3 separate regions of the Homo sapiens genome follow, and regions 2 and 3 are each linked to region 1. The links are contacts of gene promoters, found by promoter capture Hi-C in blood cells and fetal thymus (Javierre and others, 2016). All regions are on one chromosome and are shown on one strand. The core of a region is centred on a gene start or on the middle of the fragment in contact, and the rest is flanking DNA. Distances in the headings are between cores, read along the strand shown. Region 1 holds the start of ZNF671 (zinc finger protein 671). Region 2 holds the start of ZNF180 (zinc finger protein 180). Region 3 holds the start of ZNF223 (zinc finger protein 223).

Evidence for each region. The method cuts DNA at HindIII sites, captures the fragments that hold promoters and counts their contacts. A CHiCAGO score of 5 or more calls a contact.
Region 2: the fragment with the promoter of ZNF180 here is called in contact with the fragment with the promoter of ZNF671 in region 1 in 1 of 17 cell types (total CD4 T cells); the score reaches 13.2 in total CD4 T cells.
Region 3: the fragment with the promoter of ZNF223 here is called in contact with the fragment with the promoter of ZNF671 in region 1 in 1 of 17 cell types (naive CD8 T cells); the score reaches 5.9 in naive CD8 T cells.

The regions. Positions count from the first base shown.
Region 1 is chr19:57,726,159-57,728,970 of GRCh38, reverse strand. ZNF671 (zinc finger protein 671) reads left to right here and starts at 1,347. Exons shown (of 4, transcript NM_024833.3): 1 at 1,347-1,580. The coding sequence starts at 1,443. RefSeq lists enhancers at 1,001-1,050, 1,191-1,630, 1,148-1,648 and a silencer at 969-1,194. The HindIII fragment of the contact is 7,103 bases long and covers 604-2,812 here.
Region 2 is chr19:44,499,216-44,501,915 of GRCh38, reverse strand. It overlaps ZNF180 (zinc finger protein 180), which reads left to right and starts at 1,394. Exons shown (of 5, transcript NM_001278509.3): 1 at 1,394-1,641. RefSeq lists enhancers at 939-988, 1,165-1,459, 1,299-1,508, 1,519-1,578, 1,125-1,625 and 2 more. The HindIII fragment of the contact is 10,008 bases long and covers 1-2,700 here.
Region 3 is chr19:44,050,658-44,053,357 of GRCh38, reverse strand. ZNF223 (zinc finger protein 223) reads right to left here and starts at 1,322. Exons shown (of 5, transcript NM_013361.6): 1 at 1,163-1,322. RefSeq lists enhancers at 1,096-1,335, 1,155-1,656 and a silencer at 1,376-1,435. The HindIII fragment of the contact is 18,414 bases long and covers 1-2,700 here.

The sequences.
Region 1 (2,812 bases), core at 98-2,597:
ACACCTACTGAGAGCTCGTATGTGTTCCTTGGATGTGTATTTTAACAGTGAATTATCAAGACAGCACAACTTCACTGTTGATTTTTACCATTCTGATATCTTCTTTACAATTGCTCAGCATTTTCAGGAAAAAAGAGTCACATTTTGTTGACAAAGTGTGGTCAAGATCACAACACAACCATATGCTTAACTTCATTCTTTCACTTATACTTTAGTATTCAGGCTCAAACTTTACTGAGATCTTAACTTTGTCCATCTATCACAGATATTTCCTTAGAGCAATTTCTTTCATTATCTTCAAATAACTACGGAATCATTATTAATAGCTGTCAGGATTTTTCCCCCGGGGATAATCTCACCTCCTAACACAGACACCATACTTACAATGACAATGACAGGTTAAATGGTAATTGCACTGTGTTTTGCTGTGATGGAGACATCACTGATTACCCAGGCAGGAAGAGTTTTCTGAAGAAATCTGTCCACTGGTTTCAGGGAGACTCCACATCATCCCTCTTCCTTCTTCCACTCCAAGGCCTTGTTTGGAATATTTTCTCTTCCGTCTCTGACCAAACTGAAGCTCACAAAAGTTACTGTAAAGCTTGAGTGCACACATATTTAAAAAGCAACAAGGTAATAGTTATTAGCTTCTAGCTGTGAGTGTACGCAAAGAGACATTGTGGTGTGGTGTATCTATTTAGTTTTGCAGCTTTGGGGAACATCTGAAATGTCTCAACATTTCTGCGATCGGTGCATACTACACTCCAGGGAATCTAGGTCCAGGCCTTTTAAGAGGACAGAAGTCAGCCGGGCACCATGGCTCACTCCTGTAATCCCAGCACTTTGGGAGGCCGAAGCAGGCAAATCACAAAGTCAGGAGTTCGAGACCAGCCTGGCCAACATGGTGAAATCCCGTACTCTGCTAAAAGTACTAAAATTAGCCTGGCGTGGTGGCGGGCCCCTGTAGTCCCAATTACTTGGGAGGCTGAGGCAGGAGAATCGCTTGAACCCGGGAGGCGGAGGTTGCAGTCAGCCGAGATCGCGCCACTGCACTGCAGCCTGGGAGACAGAGCGAGACTCTGTCTCAAAAAAAAAAAAAAAAAAAAAAAAGAGGACGGAAGTCCTGTCAGCCCTTTGAAACTCGGGTTACTTTTCCCAAACAACTTGGCCCTCCTACTTCGAGTTTTCCCAAGAGCCCAGGCCGAGAATCCCCTGCCTTGAAGGATAGCTCAGTGGGAACCACACTCTACCCACAAACCTATACGTTGCATACCCAATGAGGGCCCAGGAGAGGGGTGTTTCAGTGCCTGCGGGGGGTGCGTGGGCGGGACTTCCGGCTCCTCCTTGTAGCGGACATTTTGTTTCTGTCAGGCTGTCCCTGGCCGGGGTTCTGTAACGCTTGTGTGGGCCGCAGGTGGAGGTGTTGGGAAAGCGCGGAGGAGATGTTGTCCCCAGTGTCCCGAGACGCGTCTGATGCTCTGCAGGGACGGAAGTGCCTGCGTCCCCGATCGAGACGCCTGCCGCTCCCGGCAGCTGTCCGCGCCCACGGTCCTATGGCGGAGCTAACGGACTCCGCGCGGGTGGGTGCTGCGTCCTCCGGGCCCTCAGTCACCCTTTCTCCGACTCCGAATCGTAAAGTGCCTGCAGCCCCTGTGTCCCAGGACAGCGACGCACTCTTGGGGCGGGGTCCTATCTCGGTGTGGGTGGGTGTGGGAGAGTTACGGGCGGAGGGGACGGCGCAGGTAAAGGCTCGGGGGTGCTGCTGACCCCCAAACATTTGGGAGACAGGGTTCTCATCAACACAGAGCAGAGTTTGAGGAACTGTGACTGGAATGGCAGGCTGAGAAGTTGTCGCTTCATTCTGAGGGCGTTGAGATTAACTGAGGGTTTTGAATAGAAGGACGTGATCTTAGCTGGGATTTTAAGTGTCTCGAAATTTGCTCAGGGGAGAACATTAGTTTGGGGTGGGGACTGCGAGGATGGATACGAGGAGACCGGTAAGGAGGCTACTGCAGTGGATTCCAGGAATGCTTTGGTGGTGGATGTACCAAGAGTAATGGCAGGTGAGTGGGTAGAAGTGATCATATTCTGGGTAGGTTTTAAATTTGAAACCAACAGGATTTTCTGCTCCATCATATGCAGCTATGACTGAAAGTAAGGCATGAAAGAGCAAGGTGTTTTTGTTGTTTTTCCATGAACGTTTGGATTTTGGAATGGTGACTTTGAGATGTCTCAGAGTGGAGGCTTCCTCACTTAGGCAACTAGAGAGGAAGGTCTGAAGTTGTGGGGAAGGGGCTGGGCTTAGAATATCTTTGGGGTGAAGGGAGCGGTCTGGAGTAGGTCAAGGCCAGGAGGTCAGATTTAAGTGGGGCAGTCTTAAGTATGTTATTTCATATCTCTGGGGTAAGAGATGAGAAGGCTGGGACTGCAGGGCAGGGAAGAGGGAGTGGGCATTCTTGAGACTCCCCCCAGAAGAGAAGGGTCCTGCCATTTGAAAGGGTTCTTTTCAGTGTTTGCAGGAGGAGAGAGCTGTAGGGTATGAGGAGTTTGGCCTGGGATGGCAACGATGGGTGGTGTGCTATTGCTACTATCTGATTATCTCACCCTCATTTTGTGTGTTTTCTTTTAGTTTTAGTTTATTTATTTTTTTTATTTTTTTTGAGACGAAGTCTCACTCTGTCGCCCAGGGTGGGATGCAGTGGCTTATTGCAACCTCTACCTCCCGGGTTCAAGAGATTCTCCCGCCTCAGCCTCCCAAGTAGTTGAGATTACAGGTGCCCACAACCACCCCTGGCTAATTTTAGTATTTATA
Region 2 (2,700 bases), core at 145-2,644, about 13 Mb after region 1:
ACTACCTCATAGGCTGATTGGGCTTGGTAATGAAATATTAAAGTGTTTAATACAGAGACAGGAACCTTTATTTAGCCAACGAATATTTATTGAGCATCTATTATGTGCCAGGTCTCTCTCTTTTTTTTTTTTTTAGGTGTTGGGGATGCAGCAGTGATCAACATCGATAAAATGCTTTTCCTTATGGAATTGACATCGTAGTGGTAGGTCGGACAGTAGACCAAATAAATAATTAAAATATATAGTGTGCTAGATAGTGAAAAGTTCTTTAGAGAAAAAAATAAAAGATGAAGGGGGAGGCACAGAGCATGTGGGGAGGGAAGCGTTTGCTTGCAAGTTCACAACGGGTGGTGGGGCAATGCCTCATGAGAAGATGATATTCCCCTAATTACCAGACGGTGAGAGCCAAATGAATCCCTCAGGAGAGGCTGCTAGGGAGTGCAAAGAGCACCTGCAAACGACCAGGGGCTGGAGTCTGCTGGATCTGTTGGAGAATGGGGAAAATGTGCCAAGCAAATGGGCAAGAAATGAGGGCAAAGAGAAAAGGGGACTACGCCTGTAATCCCAGCACTTTGGGAGGCCGAGGGCGGATCACCTGAGGTCAGGAGTTGGAGACTAACCTGGCCAACGTGGTGAAACCCCGTCTCTACTAAAAATACAAAAATTAGCCGGGCGTGGTGGCTGGCGCCTGTAATCCCAGCTATTCAGGAGGCTGAGGCAGGAGAATCGCTTGAATCCGGGAGGTGGAGGTTGCAGTGAGCCGAGATCGCGCTATTGCCCTCCAGCCTGGGCGACAAGAGCGAAATTCCGTCTCAAAACAACAAAACAAAACAAAACAAAAACAGAGAAAAGGGGAGAGGTGGGGGGAACAGATCCTTCAGGCCTTATAGGCAGAGAAAGAACTCAAAATTTAAAAATAAAATGATTATATTTTAGTATTATTAAATGTAAAAACATAGATTCCTGAAGGGTTCGGTAGACGCTCCCTCCACTGTAAAATGGGGATGTCGCAACTGTCTCACAGGTTTCCCCTAGGACTAGAGGAGACAAGGGGTCGCGCGCAGCGTCTGACAGGCAGGGGGCACCCAGAAAGGGTCCCCGCCATTTCTATTGGATTCTGACGTCACGCCAGAGCGACTCCCCATGCGTCGCTGCACTGGCCTCGGCCTCCCGGCGCCGCGGCTGGTCTTAGTGCTCCCCCTAGACCTGCACATGCACAGGTGTGGCGCCCCCCCGGGCCCCGGACGAGGACGCCCTCTTAGCTTCTGGCCCGGTCCCCCGCCCCACTTCCTTGGAGAAGCCGGAACCCCGCCTACTGACCGTCCGCGCCGCGGAGGCTTCTGGGAATTGTAGTTCTGGCTCTCCGAGCCCAAGTGCACTTCCGGGTTCGGCCACAAGAGCAGCCATTGTCCCGCGCGCGGACGCTTGCTGTCGCCGAGCAGCTCGGCCCTTCAGACTTAACCCCCAGCGGCCTTGCGGATGCTGACTAGGAGAGGGGACCGAACTAGCTTAACCCGAGTCGGCCGTGTTGCAGAATCGGGGCAGGGGGTTGCCTAACCCGAGTTCGTCCTGCCGCAGAGCCGTGCTAGGCACTGAGGCGGTGACAGGCCCAGCCTGGGCTGCGGGCCAGCGGACGCCCAGGTTGGTAGGGGCGTGGGGCAGCGCTTGGTGTCCGATGCGCGCATGCGCAGGGTCTACGCGGGAAGCTGGAAGCGGTGGTGAGTGTAGCGGGGAGACCTGGTATCTGTGCGGGTGGCGCTTTAGCCTCGGGTCACCGGGGTTGATGGAGTTACTGATACAGCTGTATATTCCGCGACTGTCCTCTGCGTGCATGCGCGGGTGCTTGGTCAGGTGGTGCTCTTGTCTGGGGCCTGAGGATGCCCAGGTTGCTGGAACACAGGGCACATGCATTGATGTAAGGGGACATCTTGAGAACTCCCCTCCTCCAATGCCGGGCTTATTTAGTGGAGGCCTGAGGATGTCCGGGTTGATGGAGTGCTCCATTGCAGATTGTGGTTTCTGGAGAGGAGGGGCTGTGCCACTGTCCCTTTACTCTTGATCAGGTATTTGGGTAGGAAGCAAAAGGTTGTAGGTAAGATTCCGAGCAGGTGGCTCTGGGCCCCTAGAGCAGACAACGCGCTTCTCCAAGGTCTGGGGGCGCTGTGGTTGGTGGAGAGACCAGATTGGAGTTGCAGATTCTTGTGCCAGAAGAGGCAGTGTTGCTAGTGAACCCTTGGTGGGAATTACCCATGGGCAGCAAACTCCCAGGCTGAAGGAGGGTATCAGGGCCTAGAAACAGGTTCTGGGCAGAGGGCCCCCTGCACGTCCTGGGGGTGTCTGAATGGAAAACAGAAACTTGAACTGATAGTAGGGACCTATGTAGGATAGTGCAGAGCTCTAGAGCATTCAAGATGGGCAGAGACTCCGGGTTGGAGATACAGAATTTAAGTCCAGGAAGGACAGAGCTGCAACAGCTGCCATCAAATTGGTAGCTGGGGAGGAAGCAGTATGTTGCCAGCATCGTTATGAAGCAGGTGTTGCTGAGACCTTTACTTGGGTACGCTATTTGCAGGCGTGAGAATGTGCAGGTTAGTAGAGGGACAGAGCCTGTGCTGCAGATTTGGTCCCGGGAAGAGCTGACTGCACAACACCCAGGCCGTCATGATTGGGCAAGAGAAGGACAAAGGGCCCAGTTCCCAT
Region 3 (2,700 bases), core at 73-2,572, about 14 Mb after region 1:
ACCCTCTCCCCACCATTACCCTATAGTCCTTCCACATCCCCCTCACCAAGATAGTAGAGATAGTGATCAATAAATACTGAGGGAACTCAGAGACCAGTGCCGGTACAGGTCCTCATTTGCTGAGCGCCGGTCCCCTGGGCCCACTTTTCTTCCTCTATACTTTGTGTCTGTGTCTTATTTCTTTTCTCAGTTTCTCATTTCCACCTTGTGAGAAACACCCACAGGTGTGGAGAGGCAGGCCCCCTTCAATATCAAACTCCAAATGAACAACTATGGAAATGTGACAGCTAAAGACAACGCATAAACTGGACTTTGAATAGGTGAAGGGTGGGGCAGAGGACAGTCATAAGGACTTTAAATGAAAAATTTAACAAATTCGTATATGGAACTGCAGATTAGATAACATGATGCTAGGTAATATGCTATCCAACACTATCTAGTAAGTACACTACAAATACTAGTATTCTTTTAACACATCTATCTGACATGTAATCGGTAACAGTATTATTTAACATAATATCCAATATTATCTACCATGTTATGTGAAACCCTATAACCAGCCCTTCCTAAATGCCTCTTACCAAGACACCCCACAATTACCGTGGTATGTGGGCTTCCTTGCTGCAGAAAGCTACCAATCAGCTGTCTCTGGTTACAGGTATGTTCCTGGTGGTATTTGGTTGATGGTCATCAACAAAGCAAACAGGAAAAATGTAAACACTTGGCAAATTTGGGTAAAGGGTATATGAGAATTTCTTATACTGTTTTTGCAATTTTTCTATAGCTTTGAAATGATATCAAACGTTTTAAAATATCAGGCAACAAGAGACCACTCACCAAGTGACAGGGACAACTTTAAGGCTTTCATTTGTATTATCTCTTTCAATTCGCAAAACAATTCTATTAGGATGACCCTATAAGCACCATTTTAAAGAACAGCAATGGGAAGTACAGAGACATTAACATTCCACATCACACTGCGAGAAAGAGTGTACACACTGCATACGTAGGGAGGCGGACTGAGCGAGGTCAAAGTCCTGGAAACCCTCAGAGCAGGGCACACAAGGCCACCCCAATCCCACCCCCCGGGAGGCGAGCAAAGCCCCCCGACGCCAGAAGGCTCCGCTGACGGGAACAATAAACACCCTCCCCGCCCTCGCACCTCTAAACCTCTGCTCTTCGCCAAGGCTTCTTTTCCCCTGAGACGATCATCGATCATCGGGTGGTTGCGAGCCTCAAGCAAAGGGGGTTCGTTCAAAATGTCCTGCAAGACGCAGAAATGGCTCAAACTACCCCGGTCATTAAAGCAGGAACCTCAGACTAGGAGACCGGAAGTGTCCTCTCTGCGCCAGAGTGTCTGGACTCCACTCCCCAGAATTCCCCGGACCCGCCCCCCTGAGCCAAAGGGCCCGGGACTCCGCAGAGTGTCTGGACTATCGTTCCCAGAATTCAACGGTTCACCTGCCAGAGCCAAAATACCCAGTGTTCCACGAGCCAGTGGACTACACTTCCCGTAAAATGGACTACTCTTCCCAGAATTCTCCGGAAACGCCTACCTGAGCTGAAGTATCAGGAATCCCGCAAGGTGTCTGGACTGCAGAGCCTCAGATGCAAAAGGAAAATGTCCATCACCTCACCCTTTAGGCTCAAGTGTTGCGACTACATGGTGCTCCTCGATTACACTTCCCGCAACACCCACGGGGAACGAATTTCATAGCCCCAGGTTCCTGGTGGGGAATGCAGACTGTTACCCTGACAGTTGTCCTTCCCAGAGTCCTCGAGCGAAAATATTGAATAGAAAGAATTTATGAAGTCTAAATGTCTCCCATGATTGACAGGAGTGTTCTTGGACAGGGAACAAGCGAGGAGATACAATATTCAAGGAGCTAGATAGAGTGACTGTTGAGCCGTCAGATGGCTGAAAGGAGGCTCAGGGTTTAAAGCAAGGATATCCAACTCCAGGGCCACAGACCTGTACCGGTCCACTGACTGTTAGGAACCGGGCGGCACAGCAGGAAGTGAGCGGCAGGTGAGGGAGCATTATGGCCTGAGCTCCACCTCCTGTGAGATCAGCCCAGCATTACATTCTCATAGGAGCGCGGATCCTATTGTGAACTGTGCGTGCGAAGGATCTAGGTCAGGCGCTCCTTATGAGAATCTAATGGCTGAGGTGGAACAGTTTCATCCCGAAACCATTCCCCAGTCCGTGGAAAAATTGTCTTCCACAAAACCGGTCCATGGTGCTAAAACGGTTGGGGACCACTGGTTTAAAGAATGAGCCAGGTAGAATGGGTTGGGAGGGGCAATGAGAAGCCAGGAAAGCATCAGCCCCTGTAACTGAAAAGTAGATCAGTGGCTTCCCGTTTGCAACGTCCAGTTAACAAGAGGGAGATCTGGTATAAAGAAAGTGATTTATTCTAGAGCTAGCGTAGGGGAAGTAGCACAGGTGTTGTCTTTAAGTGCACGGCTTGGCTTTTAGAGCAGAAAGCAGGCACTTTTAAAAGGTAGGGGAGGAAGAGGGAAGGGGTCTGTGTGCTGGCTTGGTGCCTTATCTATTAGGCAGTTGAGCTGGCTTTTTCATGGGCAGAAATAAGTTGTAACCAGAAGGGAGAGAGTAGCAGGCACGCTTTCAACTGTTGTCTCTTCAGGCAACCTCCTGGTGAGTGAGAGTTCAGAGGCCAGCATGCTTTAGTTTGTAAA